Linked DNA regions of Homo sapiens: regions 1, 2, 3 and 5 are each linked to region 4. Evidence: promoter capture Hi-C in 16 types of primary human blood cells and fetal thymus (Javierre and others, 2016). All regions are on one chromosome and are shown on one strand. Each heading gives the region's core, a stretch centred on a gene start or on the middle of the fragment in contact. The rest is flanking DNA. Distances are from core to core; before and after follow the strand shown. Region 1 overlaps PRKCE (protein kinase C epsilon). Region 2 overlaps PRKCE (protein kinase C epsilon). Region 3 overlaps PRKCE (protein kinase C epsilon). Region 4 holds the start of PRKCE-AS1 (PRKCE antisense RNA 1). Region 5 overlaps PRKCE (protein kinase C epsilon).

Region 1 (2,700 bases), core at 135-2,634, 180 kb after region 4:
CTTCCCAAACAGGGGACCTCAAAGCCAGACACCAGCTCCAAGGTGCTGATCAGGCTCCCTCACATGTTGTGCCTTACGCAATAAGATCCTGATCCTGTTCACCACACAGACTCCCTAGACATGCATGGACATGTCAAATCCCCTGGCAGTGCACGGAGCCCAGAAAACAACAAAATAACAAAATCCAGATGTTCAACAACATTGATCTTACAATATGCACCCCACGTTACCACACCCCACCCCGGCATAACTTCTTCCTGTGGCTGATTCTCAGACCCAGGGAGCAAGCCTCTGTGTCTTGGGATTTTTGGCTCTATTTTTGGTCCTGATGGAATAAATTCTTGTTCCCAGAAGTGACTATATGCACCAGATGAGACCAAGGGGATCAGCTGGAAAACAGTGAGCACCAAGCCCCCATCAAGGAGTTTATAATGTCACAAAGAGACATCGCTAAGATGCTTGATGAGACATAAGCCAAGAAACCCTCATTTCCTTCCAAATAGCCTCTAGATGCACAGCAGTGCCTCTGAAATGAATCACCCATGGTTAACAACGCCAAATGCCAACCATTAGCAGATGAGAAACAGAACTGAATCTTGAGTGTTTGGAGAGCAGAGCTCTTTTGATCACAACTAGAGCCTCCTTCCCCTCTGCCATTACAGGAGCGTAGATATATATTTCCTTTTGACTGGTGTGCCTGTCTTACCAATAAAATAATTGAAGGAAGAATAGTTACAGTGAAGAAATAAGCTTATTGGAAAGGTGGATTTCTAATAGATCCTTGGTCAAGAAGTGGGTCCCACATGACCTCTAGTTCTATCTCCGTTGTCTTGCTGTGTATCATTTCTGTGTCCTATAAAGAAGATTGTTTCTGGAAATTCCTGTTTGCAGCTGAGATCATACTGGCCCAAAATGGGTTCTAATTTAATCATTTATTGTTGTTGATGTCTTCATGATTTGGCTTAAAAGAAAGGGTATTTCCATTCATTTAACCTAATTTAGAGTTGTCTGTCTTTCAGGACCTATTACTTTATTCTTTTATCCAGTTGAAAATGGCCAGTGCTAACAGTTTTATTGATTTTCCTTATTACCTAGCTTTGTTGAAACATGCATGTTTTCACAAGCAAGTGCATTCACCATTTTTAATCGAGCTGTTGACACTGGGGCTTTTATCTTCCTCCTTTATTTAAACCTTTGGTGTGAGCTCATAGGGGCCAGTGTAGGGGTGTACATGTGCCCAAGTGCACACAGGTGAGAATGAGTGTCTCTGAATCACCTATTCTGTCTCCCCCTCATCCTCCATTTCTTCAGTTGGAAGCATCATTTATTTGCTTATCTAATATATACGAGGCCCTGGGGATGTAGAGCTAATGAACACAGTGCCTGCTGTCAGGAAGCTCATGCTCTGCTAGAAGGAGGCAAGCAATAGACCAGTAAGCATCATCGTGTGCTTTAGCTGTTGGGTAGCTACTGGTAGGGCAGGGTGCTGTGGGACCACCAAGGAGCCTCCCTTCTGTTTGCAGGCTCTGCTGTGAGTAGGCAGTCAGTAAATGACAGCCACAAACACTTCCACGTGATCACTGATCCACATGGCAACCCTGAAATGCAGGTACCAACAGTTATCCTCTTTCCTTGGTTGAGGAAATAGTGCCACGGCCCACTGAAGATTCATTTGAACAGGAGATAAAATAAAGAGGGACTAGTATTTGATTGACCACAATTTGAACTTTTCAGGAAGACATGTGATGTATACATTGACTCATTCAACCTATGGCTGTTAGGCACTTTCTGTATGCTAGTTACTCTTCTCAGAACTGGGGGCACAGAAGTGAATAATAGAAACAGAAATTCCTGCCCTCATGGGGCTTACATTCAAGTGGATATGCTTGTGTGTGTTTGGGAGGGGTATGTGTGTGTGTTTGCAGGTTGTCTATGCAAGGATACACAGCAGATTGAGAACAGTGGCTGTCTCTGGGGAAAGGAAAGGGAAAATTTGGAAAGGATGAGACATTTCTTGTCAAGCTTATTATTTTGTTTTTCTTTCCCATGTATGTGCATGAGCTATTAATTTTTTTATTACTTAGAAATTGTGAAAAAAAATTGAATTATATAGAAATGTGACCATTCCCATTCACAGAGTGACTTGCCCATGGCCAGAGGCTACAAGAGGCTCCAGCAAACCCTGCCAGAGAGGAGTGACTCACTGAATCCACAGACCACGTCTAATGGCAGGGAACTCCACAAAGAATGCTCTCCGTTCATTTATTGCTTGATAGACACCTCTAATGTATAAAGGGCTATGTTGAAATTTAGGATTCCCTCGGGCTATGCCTGTCACCGAGGACTGAGTGCTCCTGCCATGGAGAGGCAGGTGGGCCAGGTGGCCTGGGCTCCCGCAAAATGGGTGAGGCAAGACCCCCTCAGAGCAGTAACTCCAGGAACCACTTGCCTCCACCTGCCAGCCCTGCCTGCACCTCGCTGGACAGACAATCCCACTGTGGCGTTTCTGATGGCAGCATTTTCCGGCATTTAGCCTCCGCTGGTACTTGTCCCAAACTTGGTCATCTCCCCAGACAGAGTGCTTTCATTAGCTCTGCCCTTCTACCCAGCTAAGTAGGGCAAGTCAGCTGCCGATGGTCATACCTACTTTCCAAACATTCAAGTTTGTGTGTTTCCTGATATTGAAAATAGTGGTGATGT
Region 2 (2,700 bases), core at 118-2,617, 230 kb after region 4:
GAACACTATGGGGGTGGCACGTGCCCATCCAGGGCAAATCACAGGGGGAGAAGATGAGGTTTCTTAACAGTACCACCTCTCACTTTTGGTATTTGTAATGGAGAACACAGACTTATATCACATGTGAAAATGAAACAATGGTTTAAAAAGTCATGTCTCTGTGCTGGCTCTGGATGAGATGAGCCTTTTGAGAAGGCAGAGGCGTGCTCGGTGGGTTGGGCTCTGGGCATTTCTTCCCCTGCCAAGAAGCGAAATGTCTTAGCTCCATGTGCGTTGATGATTACTAACTGGCCAGGGCTTACTGTAAGTGGGCTGTGCTCGGGGATCTCACCAGGAAGAAAAAGAATCAAACTAATCCCTTTCTGGAAACCGTCTCCCCCGGTTGCCTGGGCCACCTGTCCCAGATGCGCTCCTCTTTCCCAAGACTCTTGCTGTCTCCCCGCTGCCCCAGAAGCCTGCCTTTTCTCCAGCCCTGCATGGGACATTCTCCTGATGGCAGGGACCCATGAGAGGGGGGCTGGGTGAGCCTATGTGCTGTGAATGTGTTGGTGAGCCCTGGGGGAGGAGTCAGGGGAACCTGGGGAGCTGGGGGTCCACGTGTGAGGTCCCGGGCGTGGACCATGGAGAGCTGGTAGCCTTTGTTGACCATTGTACAGACAGCGACAGGGGCTCCACATCACTTCAGCAGGCACGGTGACACACAGGACTCACTGGATGCTACGGTGTTAATCACACCACTGGTGCTTGCTGTATCCTATGGCAACAGCAGCTCCTTGTTAATTCAGAGTAATGCTGGGGCAGGCCGTAGTCCAGGCCATCTCACACTGGCTAGGGCAAACCCTGGCTCAAGAGCATCCTTGACTTATGGCCAAGCCTCAGGAACCTCTTGGCTGGCTCTCCAACATAGCCCACGCTAACCCAGTTTTGGAATCTGGTAGTGGGAAAACAGGGAAGCTCCAAAAAAAAAGTAACTCAGAGGTCAAGGTGAACCCTGAATGAGTCCATTAGATTCCACAATCAATATCCAGCTTCTAAACATTATACATATTGATGAGCTGATTGCTAGGAGACTAGTGCTGAGAGAGCTGAAATCTATTTTGCTGAGGCCAAATTGGCTGTTGATGGGCCATAGTAGACTATGGCTTTAATAATCAGGTAAAAAACACCCTGCCATCTGGTAAAACACAGCTTAAGCACATTGGAGCCCTGTGAGCTTTCCTAAAAGCTGGGCAAAGCAGGGCTTTCACCGGGCTCTGTGTATCCTGGCCCTGCAAGTCCTTTCTAAGGGGCTGAGGGCTGGCCGGGGCCCTAGCTGGGGAACCTCTGATGCTGGGAGGGTGGATGCCAGGTGGTGGAACACTGCAACTGTGATCTACAAAGATAGGATGTTTACTGAAGGGTAAATGGAGACCGGCCCATGCTCTTTATAGTCCCTGAACACACGTGTTGACCTGAACTGCTTACTCAACTCTGTACTCAGTTACAAATTGGGTGAGATGTGGCTCCCACAGTGGGAATAATTTCCTTGAAGGTCTTTACTCCAAGAGGTTCCCTGGGAGGAAGGATGTGCTTGTGCGGGGTATGGTGTCTGCCCACATGAAGGGCCGGGGTGGGCAGGCTATCTTCAGCGGTGATGCGCTTTCAACCCTCCTCCCCTACCCACATGACCCGGGTATGGAGCGTGGGTTGGTATCATGATAGCATGCTGGAATCTAACATGAATTATCCTAACTTGGTAGACCCAGATGCAGCGGCTTTCCTGCTCCCCGCAACTCTGCCTGACACATTGCTGGAGCTAGGGAGGGAAAGCCGCTAGCTGATTGCTAAGACCTAGGTGAAGAATCTCAACCACCTGGCCTACTGGGCATCTTCTGGTCATTTGGATCACCGCTGGTGTGCTGGTGCTGAGTCCAGGAGGCTGCACTGCTCACAGGGCATAGGCAGCTCTGCTTGGGGCAAGACATTGCCAAGGTGCAGAGAACAGGTTTCTGGAGGCAGGAAGTCAAAGGCAATTGGGTTAATTAAACCCCTGTGGATCTTCAGCTGCAGAATTGCTGTGAGGTACTCTGAAGACTTAAAGTTGTACATTTACTAAAGCAAAAACGGAACACCCACAGTTAAACCAAGACAAGTCCTTTCTACCTGTGGTGCTATGCATGGCTCTAATTCAAGGGCAGGGAAGAGGGGGACGGGTTTCCAGTGTCTCCCCAAACACCTTTCCTCTGGTTTTGAGCATGGGCCTGTCTGATGGGATTCCAGGGCCGTCCTTTGATCTTACCTCTGCTGGGTTAGGTTGGGGGAAGCTATCTCTGCCTTGACAGGGTGATGCTCCCCTCTACTCATGTGCTCTGTGTGGGAGGCAGCAGGAACCAAGGTCTTGATCTGTTGCTGCTGGCCCACCCTCCATCAGGCGGCAGCTCTGGGCATCAATGTGCCGGCAGCTTCTGAGGTGCCTGCTGTATGTGCCTACCCTGCAGAGGCCTGGGGCCAGCACTGATGGGAACTTCTGTTTGATACTCAGAACATCTTCAGAGATGGGTCACACCCTGCGCTTGGCTGGGACAGTGTTTCATGGGCTTCTCCTGCCGCCCTTCTTTAAGGAGCTGCATTGTGAGTGTGGGCCCAGAGAACACAGTAGGAGAGAAATGCAGTGTCTCCCCATAATCCCCTGCAGGGACCAGGCTGGATGGGGCCCCAGTT
Region 3 (2,700 bases), core at 21-2,520, 250 kb after region 4:
GATGGATTGCGATGGCATGATCTTGGCTCCCTGCAAACTCCACCTCCCAGATTCAAGCGATTCTCCTGCCTCAGCCTCCCGAGTAGCTGGGATTACAGGCACCACCACCACGCCCAGCTAACTTTTGTATCTTTAGTGGAGATGGGGTTTCACCATGTTGGCCAGGGTGGTCTCGAACTCCTGACCTCAGGTGATCCACCCGCCTCGGCCTCCCAAAGTGCTAGGATTACAGGCGTGAACCACCGCGCCCGGCCAAGCATGCTGCATTTTAATCATCAATTAGCATCAGTAAACATTTACTGTGTACCTAGGATACATCCATCCGAGTAGTGAACCCAAGGGAGAATTCTAGAGCATAAGCTCGGGGAGCTCACAAGCTGGCCAAGGATCACCTAGACTGAGCTGACTTCTATTAGGACTCTTCTAAGACCTGTGATGTTGATGACAGAAGGCTGCTTTCAATCATCGTGGGCTGGGCAAACTCTGGCAGGCTTCCAGCAACAGTGGGACTTGAGCTAGGACTCAAAGGTTTTGCATAAGCAGATAAAATATTGGGGTAGTCATTCCTGGCCCAGGCCAGGGATAACCTGAGGGTGCGATTCGGTGGGGGAGGCAAGGCTAACTTCAGTGGGTAGAATCAGGTTGGGAGAATTCAGTGGGGCTGAATATTCGAAGCCTCAGTGCCACCCACTTTGGCTTGGGAATTTCTAGAATATTGTGCCAGTTTTTTTCTACATCCCAGGAAATGGGGGACTTGCATCTCACAGACTTGTGAAGTATAAATAACTCAAATGTTGAGAAATGACAAAGTTGGCAAGCATGAATTTTCGGCCTGCTGCTCAGCGGCTGACTGCTGAGGCCTGCAATGATATGCAAGGGAACTTGGCTGGCTAATTTTGAATTTTCCTTTCTCCAGGGCCATGGCAAGAGGAATATGGGCAGAGGGGGGAATCAGTGCTTTGTTTCAGGGCAACTGCCATACATAACCACTGTCTTCAAATAAAAGCCTTTCACAAGTAGGTTTCCATTACACAGCAAGTCGAGGAGGAGCTGGTGAAATCAGTGAGTTAGGTGAGTCCCCCCCATCCTCAGGATCTTTTGTTATGGTGGTGGTGGTAATGGCGGTGATAGTGGTGATAAAGAGGAGGGGATGTTGCCCTTAACGTAGTACTGGCATATTACATAGCTCTTCCATACAGGTCATCTTATTTGATCCTAAAGCAAAACTGTGAGGTAGGCAGAGTATTCTCTCCAGTTGAAAGTCGGAGGCTGAGAAGGATTTGTAAGCCAGTGCTTTCTTTTTTTGTTTTGGTCATTACTAAATTACTGTGTTTCTTATTAACGAACATTTTGTGACATGGACAGCCGTGGCTAGAAGCATTCAGACAGAGGGGCTCCTGTGGGCCAGAGGCACCAAAAACGATTTCTGGAAATAGAATTTGAGCTTAGAGGTTTGGGCTGAAAAGTAGGACACAGGATAGTAGAAGTATAGAATGTGTGGTGTGTGCATGTGTGAGTGTGCACAAGACACAGGATGGTGAGAAGTATAGAATGTGTATATGAACATGTGTGAGTGTGGATAGGACACAGAATGGTGAGAAGTATAGAACCTGTATATGTGCATGTGTGAGCGTGCATGGGACACAGGATGGTGAGCACTATAGAATGTGTATACATGAACGTGTGAGTGTGCATGGGACACAGGATGGTGAGAATTATAGAATGTGCATATGTGCACATGTGAGCGTGCATGGGACAAGGATGGTGAGAAGTATAGAATGTGTATATGTGCATGCATGAGTGTGCACGGGACACAGGATGGTAAGAAGTATAGAATGTGTATAGTCCATGTGTGAGTGTGCATGGGGGGGGTGTTGTCAGAGAAGAGGGAGGTGAAATTGTAAAGATATAATTTGTGAATTAACAAATGTAGTTGGATTTTTGTGGTATTGGAACCTAGAGAAGGGAAGGAGACGAGTATTCATTGACATGCCTCAATGTGCCAGGCTCTGTGCTAAGCACTTTTATGTATATCATCTAATTTAATCATTGCAATCTTCCTATGAAGCAGGTATTATCTCCATTTTTGCAGCTGATAACTGATGTATAAACAGAAGAGGTACCTCCCTCCAGGTCTCATAGTAAAGCCACAGGCATCCAGGTCTGCCTGAGTCCAAGGGCCATAACTGCCTACCGTGCCCCAGGACCAAACCTCTGGGCCAGTCTGTACTGCTGATCCAGAGATTATGCAGCCTGGCATATTATTTGATTCTGCAGCCCAGGCTAAGGAGCATTAGAGAAAGGGAGGATTTCATCTCCAGAACTGTAAATCAGCAGGAAGTAAAATCTCTCGCATAGAGGCTGATACTCTCTCCTGCAGTGGATTTGAATATTTGTTTTCCCATTAAATAGATAAACACATAATTGCTAGCAGCTGATGTGTGCTGAGAAAAAAAAATACATCTTTATTTTTCCTTAGCTCTAGAAGAACTTTTCCACAGTGATTTCAAATAGTCTTTGAGATACCCAAGGCTTCGTGTAGATGTATGCCTTCCTAAGTGACTGTAGCCTTCACTCACGGAGGCAGGAGAGGGTGGGGGGGCCTGGGTGGTACTGGAGGACCCCAATGTACATAGACTTATCTTTGATGAGCCCAGGGCCGAGGAAGAGTATCTGGCTATTGTTTGTTCTTTTGGGCTC
Region 4 (2,711 bases), core at 76-2,575:
TTCCACTTCTGAGCCCCTCCAAGCCTGGGGCCCAGCCAGGATTCCTCACTTCCTCTTGGCTGAGTATAAACTCATTTACACTGAGGTAGATGGCCGTAATGAGATATATAAGACTGGTGCTTTAGAAGAGTGCTGTGGAGGAGGCCTTCCTTTATCTGGAGGGTGACATGGCAATGTCTGGAATTTTCAGATATCAGTGACAGGAAAAGATGGACTTTTGGGTCAAGAGGACTCTGTCAAACCAGGTACTAACTGGAGACCAGGCTATTTCTGAGATCATACTCTGTGTCAAGGGCTAGGGATCTTTACATGAGCCTTCAATTGTAAGTCAGGGCCCAACTCACTGTGGTCAGTGCATATATTTCTAGATTACCTCACTTTGGAAATGCTTGTCTCCCCACTCTGTGAGGGATTAGTGCTTCTCCACTTTAAAGGAAAAACAGGTCATAAATTACTGAGGAATTTTATGGCACAGCCCAAAGCACAGATTGGAGGCCAAGGAAAAATAAAACTCCAGCTTCTTTATGAAAGTCAAATGGAAAAGAGAAGATGCTTCCTGAAAAGAGGTGGGCACTGCTTGAGGGAGAGGAGGGAAAGGACTCTGAGTGAGTCTACAGGAACTCCTTTTGGTGTCCTTGAGGAGTTTATGAGAATTCTCGGCCTCATCTTGATAAACTTGAAGGCAAAGTGAAGCAGGCAGTTGAACTGTTTGTCTGGGAAATGGATGAGAGACATGATTATTTTTGGTAGCAAGATTTTCTGTGTTTGGATTATGCATGTTATAAATCCAGTATCTTAATTTCCATTTGCCTTGGGTGATCCATATGCCTAATTTTAATTCAATGCTGATTAAATGTCAGAGAAGGAAAGGAAGGGATGAGGTGAGAGTTTCCAAGCCTGGCTGACCAGGAAGACAGCAGGCAGATCTTGGAGACTGGACCTCATCAATTATAAAGAGAAAAATCCCCTGTAAGTTACAAAACAAAATAGCACAAGAAAACACTCTGTAGATGTACATTAAGCCGTCTCCTTTCCAGAAAACGTTTCCCCAGACCAGGAAGACCCAGCGTGCCCCTTAGCACCTTAGCCCAGGCCTTCAGCTCTTCTCAGCTCACCTTTTTCTCCAGTGAATAAACATGATGCTGTTTTTAAGTCTTTGCTTCCTTGTTTCTAGCCCATGTTTTACTCCAGAGCAGTGAGGGCACTTGTGACCAGCTTTGGGGAGATGAATACACTGTCATTTATACATAAATGCACTGTCATTTATCATTTCAGAATTGGAGTGAATTCTAAATGAATCATAACAGTTGCATTTAATGAATTATTCTCCTGGGTATTGGCTAATTTTAAACCGGTCTGACGAGTTTTAAGGTCCATGTGGTTTGAGGAAATTCAGTGGTGCATTTCCCGGTTTGGTCCTCCTCATTTCCCTCCAGCCCTGCTCCTTTTCAACATGCCAGGCTGCTTGGCTGGGTTATCTTTAATCACTGTAGGTGGGAGGAGGGGAGGCGGGGAGGTACTGGGCCCAAGGTCATGCCAGAAGAGTTCAGGCCTCTGCTTGTCATCTGGCACTGCTCAGAATTCCCAGGGGTCTCCGGGGAGCTGGCCCTCAGCTCACAGATGGGCCTGACTTTGGTGAGAGGTGGCCTTCCACCAGGAAGCCTCCAGCTGGCAGGATAGGTGGGTGGGGAGGGGTGAACTTTGGCTGTGGAAGCGTCTCAGCATTTTACTCCCCTTTTTCAATAGTTGCTGCCTCCACTCCACGCTTTTATTCAAGCAGCACCGGTACCTGGCAGTAGCTCCTACAATGTTTTCTACATTGGCTCTAAAATCATGGCCTAGTAGACACCAATGCTTGACTTGTTTTTTTGTTTGTTTGTTTTGAGAAGTTGTTTACCATTGGCGTGACGGGATTTTCTTGGCCTTGTGAAGTACAGGGAGCCTCAGGATAGCTTCACTGGGGGTGTCATTACATGGTCATTATCAGTGGTAAGTTTCCCAGTCTCAAGATGGAACCCTCTGTTGCTTCTCTGCCGCGTGTTTGGCTCTGTTGACCTTCCATTGCTCACCTGTGCTTGTTCCCCCAGCAGCCTGTTTCTTGTAACTATTTGCCTCATAATGCAAGTATTCTAGTGATTGAAGTGTTGCTGTGCAAAAGAGATCTTTTAAACTGAAACCAGTGCAACAAAACAATTTAAAACATTTTAATAATTTCTTAAAGGATACAGAGCCTTTTCCTCTCTTAATACATGCAGGTCAGAATGACGTCAATAAGGATTATATTTTTGCATTAACAGGAAAACTAAGTTTATAAGACTAGAGTATGGATAGAGAGGAAGATGGTTCTATTGGGATATAAACTCTGATCCATACATGGAAGTAGCCCAGTCCGTACAAACACCATTGCCTGTTTCATTCTTGACTGGACATACATATTGCCCCATTGTGATGAAAGGTTGTGATAATGAAGAGAGTAATAGAAGGCTCAGCTCAGGTTCTAAGGAGGGAGCGAGTAAAGGCCATGCAGGCCCATCCTTCTGTGGTCAGTCACTGCTGGTTGGGGAAGGAAGGAGGTATCAAGTGTCTCCATTCTTTCCTCTTTTCTTCATAGTTTCTAGATCATTCATTTAATAAATCATTAGGGAGCCCCTGCCATCAAGCTAGGTCTTGGGATATAACCAGGAACATGCCTAGATAGGTACCCTAATCTC
Region 5 (2,701 bases), core at 29-2,528, 210 kb after region 4:
CTTCTATTGCATTAAAAAGTGAAGCAACAGGCTTGCTTAAACATAAACAGCAACAGTAAAAACCCAGAACTACCTAACTACATGGGCACAGGAAATAGTCCAGCCATCTTGGAGAATAGCACAAAAATACAGCTGACGTGATAACAGTAACCCTGCAATGAGTCTTGACAATGCTGAAGTCAAATGACTTTTTCAAACCTTTCTAATGCTTGGCTATAATCTAAAGGAAGCATTGCACTTCGAGTGCTGATTTTTTATGAAGCTCGTAAACCTTTTTCTTTAAATGCCAATGTGCTGAAAAGTTATGAGTATTAAAGACTTAGAAAGTGCCTTTAAAAGTGTGGGAAAAGGTCCCTCTTTTCTTGATTATGATTCTTGAATGCTAGTAATGATAGTAGTAGTAATAAATGTCATTCTTCACTAGAATAGTTTTTTCCAAAGACCTTTCGGGTCTACTCTCAAGTTCTTTCCTATCTTTGTGTGAGGTGGACGATGTCACTAGCCTCACGTGGCAGAACGGGGTCAGAAGCTCAGAGTTTAAGTAATATGGCCTGGAATTAGAACCCAGGAGTATTGCTCCTTCTTGTAAACTCTGATGCCTGGGTTTTTACATGGTGTCTATCTGTAATGGCTTATAACAGAGTTGCTCCTCCAGAAGTTTTAGCCTCGTTCCTGCTTGATAGGCAGGGCCTCCCATTGGGCCTGACCCAGGATACATGCTTGGTTGCAGAAAGTCAGCTTTGCAGGTTATACTCTCAGCATTTTGGCCACAGTCAACCGTGCAGAAGGCTTCCTACCTAGATGGACAATAGATAGCGATCTGTGTCTGAAATTCCACAGCCATCAAGATGAAACTGAGAAGCTAGATCATCCTTGCTGGAACACAGATTGAGTTAGGGTGTAGGTCGAGGTTCAGTTGTAGAAAGCAGAATATATCACAGCAAACAAGAGGAAGGGATTTATTATAAGGAATTAAATGGCTTATAGAACTATGAAGAGTTCTGAAGACAAAGGTCTCTAGGTGGCGGTTTCAGGAATAAGTACCCCGGAACCACACTACAGAACTAGACCACCAAGAAAGCTGTTGCCACTCCTACAGATGAAGCCACTTCTCCAGAACCACATTGCAACAGCCATGATTGAGAGGGTCCCACAATCAGGAAGCCATGACTTTTATGGTTCTAGAACCATGCCACATCAGCTATGATCAGCATCTGCAAATGATGTCCTGGTCCTGCCTCCTGGAACCCACAAAGTTGGTACCTGGATGCTGCAACATTGGCTAAAACTGTCATAGAAGAACCAGGTGCCTCTTGGACTTTGCTTGCTGAGCAAATGGCAGCTACTGCCAAAATGTGGTCTCTGCCTCACTTTGGCGTTCTAAATTTCACAAAAGCACATCTAACTGGCCCAACTGAAATCATATCTGGAACTGCAGCTGCAGGGACTTTGAGAGTTGGCTTTAGCTTCCCATCCTCTGCCCACATAGGAGAGGTGGGCACACTAGAAGGATAGAATGTATGCTGGAAGCCAATCCACTGTTATCTCCCATGATCTGTGATCATTAGAAATGGACCTAGATTTCCAGAGTCAGCAGATGAAAACAGAACTGAGGTTATAGCCAGAACATGGAATCGTTGTGAATATTTTGGGGAATGTGTGTGTGGATGATCCCAGATATAACAGATGGCAAAGAATTAAAAGTGGCAAAAGGCGCTGGGTTTGTCCTCTAGCTCCTGCTTAGCTCCTTTGAAACTTGTTAAGCTGTAGTTGCAACAGCCCAAGGAGTTCTGGAGAACTCTAGTCTCACTGTGTATTATTTGGGGAAACAATATGTTAAGAAGCTGTCTTAATTGCCAAGCCTTTACTATGCTAATGTTTGTTGTGAATCTCTAGATGTGGATACAGCATACAAGGGTTCCCCAAACATTTGGCCACTGGAAAGCCTCATGCCTCATCTTTAAAAAATGCAGAAGTAGTATTTCCCAACAGTCTTTTTTTTTTTTTTTTTTTTTTTTGAGCTGGAGTTTCATTCTTGTCACCCAGGCTGGACTGCAATGGCGCGATCTCCTGGGTTCAAGCAATTCTCCTGCCTCAGCCTCCCCAGTAGCTGGAATTACAGGTGCCTGCCACCATGCCTAGCTAATTTTTGTAATTTCAGTAGAGATGGGGGTTTCACCATGTTGGCCAGGCTGGTTTCGAACTCCTGGCCTCTGGTGATCCACCCGCTTTGGCCTCCCAAAGTGCTGGGATCATAAGTGTGAGCCATCGCACCTGGCCAGAAATACTCTTCCAAAGAGCAAGCCAGGGAGTACTGTGGAGAAAAGGCTTGTCTGATTTCCAGGGAGTTAACCTTTTCAATAGCCTCCATCAGGAATGTTTACTGTCAAGATGATAAGATTTCCTCAAGTACAGATGGTGCTCTGCCCTTCAAGGAGAATCAAAAGTGGGGAGACCTTGACCAGCAAAACCAGCCCGTGTGGGGTTCTCTCAGGAATTCAGATGGCCTGAGACTTATCCTGAGATACCCCCAAAGAGGTAACCTGTGATCATAATTAGAAATTACAACAAAATACTAATTATCTGTAGACCACATAGCATTTGGGTTGCTCTGTTATAGAAGCAGATGGTGTTACAGAGAAGGAACTGCATTTAGCTTAAGAAAAATAGGGGCAGCTGGGGCAGGAGCTCAGCGACTAAG

Evidence for each region. Contacts are between HindIII fragments. The CHiCAGO score rates a contact against its expected background, and 5 or more counts as called.
Region 1: a fragment that was not itself captured here is called in contact with the fragment with the promoter of PRKCE-AS1 in region 4 in 1 of 17 cell types (total B cells); the score reaches 5.8 in total B cells.
Region 2: a contact is called between a fragment that was not itself captured here and the fragment with the promoter of PRKCE-AS1 in region 4, in 1 of 17 cell types (naive B cells). The highest score is 5.2, in naive B cells.
Region 3: a fragment that was not itself captured here is called in contact with the fragment with the promoter of PRKCE-AS1 in region 4 in 1 of 17 cell types (naive B cells); the score reaches 5.3 in naive B cells.
Region 5: a contact is called between a fragment that was not itself captured here and the fragment with the promoter of PRKCE-AS1 in region 4, in 2 of 17 cell types (total B cells and naive B cells). The highest score is 7.3, in total B cells.

What each region holds. Positions count from the first base shown.
Region 1 is chr2:45,849,551-45,852,250 of GRCh38, forward strand. The region is part of intron 2 of PRKCE (protein kinase C epsilon); the gene reads left to right. Among named protein-coding and RNA genes, the nearest start is that of PRKCE-AS1, 180 kb to the left of the region's middle. The HindIII fragment of the contact is 1,272 bases long and covers 749-2,020 here.
Region 2 is chr2:45,904,342-45,907,041 of GRCh38, forward strand. All of the region lies in intron 2 of PRKCE (protein kinase C epsilon), which reads left to right. Among named protein-coding and RNA genes, the nearest start is that of PRKCE-AS1, 230 kb to the left of the region's middle. RefSeq lists an enhancer at 253-322. The HindIII fragment of the contact is 2,994 bases long and covers 1-2,700 here.
Region 3 is chr2:45,925,342-45,928,041 of GRCh38, forward strand. All of the region lies in intron 2 of PRKCE (protein kinase C epsilon), which reads left to right. Among named protein-coding and RNA genes, the nearest start is that of PRKCE-AS1, 250 kb to the left of the region's middle. The HindIII fragment of the contact is 2,982 bases long and covers 1-2,700 here.
Region 4 is chr2:45,674,195-45,676,905 of GRCh38, forward strand. PRKCE-AS1 (PRKCE antisense RNA 1) reads right to left here and starts at 1,326. Exons shown (of 2, transcript XR_940049.3): 1 at 1,116-1,326; 2 at 1-713. The region is part of intron 1 of PRKCE (protein kinase C epsilon); the gene reads left to right. The HindIII fragment of the contact is 8,353 bases long and covers 1-2,711 here.
Region 5 is chr2:45,886,472-45,889,172 of GRCh38, forward strand. All of the region lies in intron 2 of PRKCE (protein kinase C epsilon), which reads left to right. Among named protein-coding and RNA genes, the nearest start is that of PRKCE-AS1, 210 kb to the left of the region's middle. The HindIII fragment of the contact is 4,842 bases long and covers 1-2,701 here.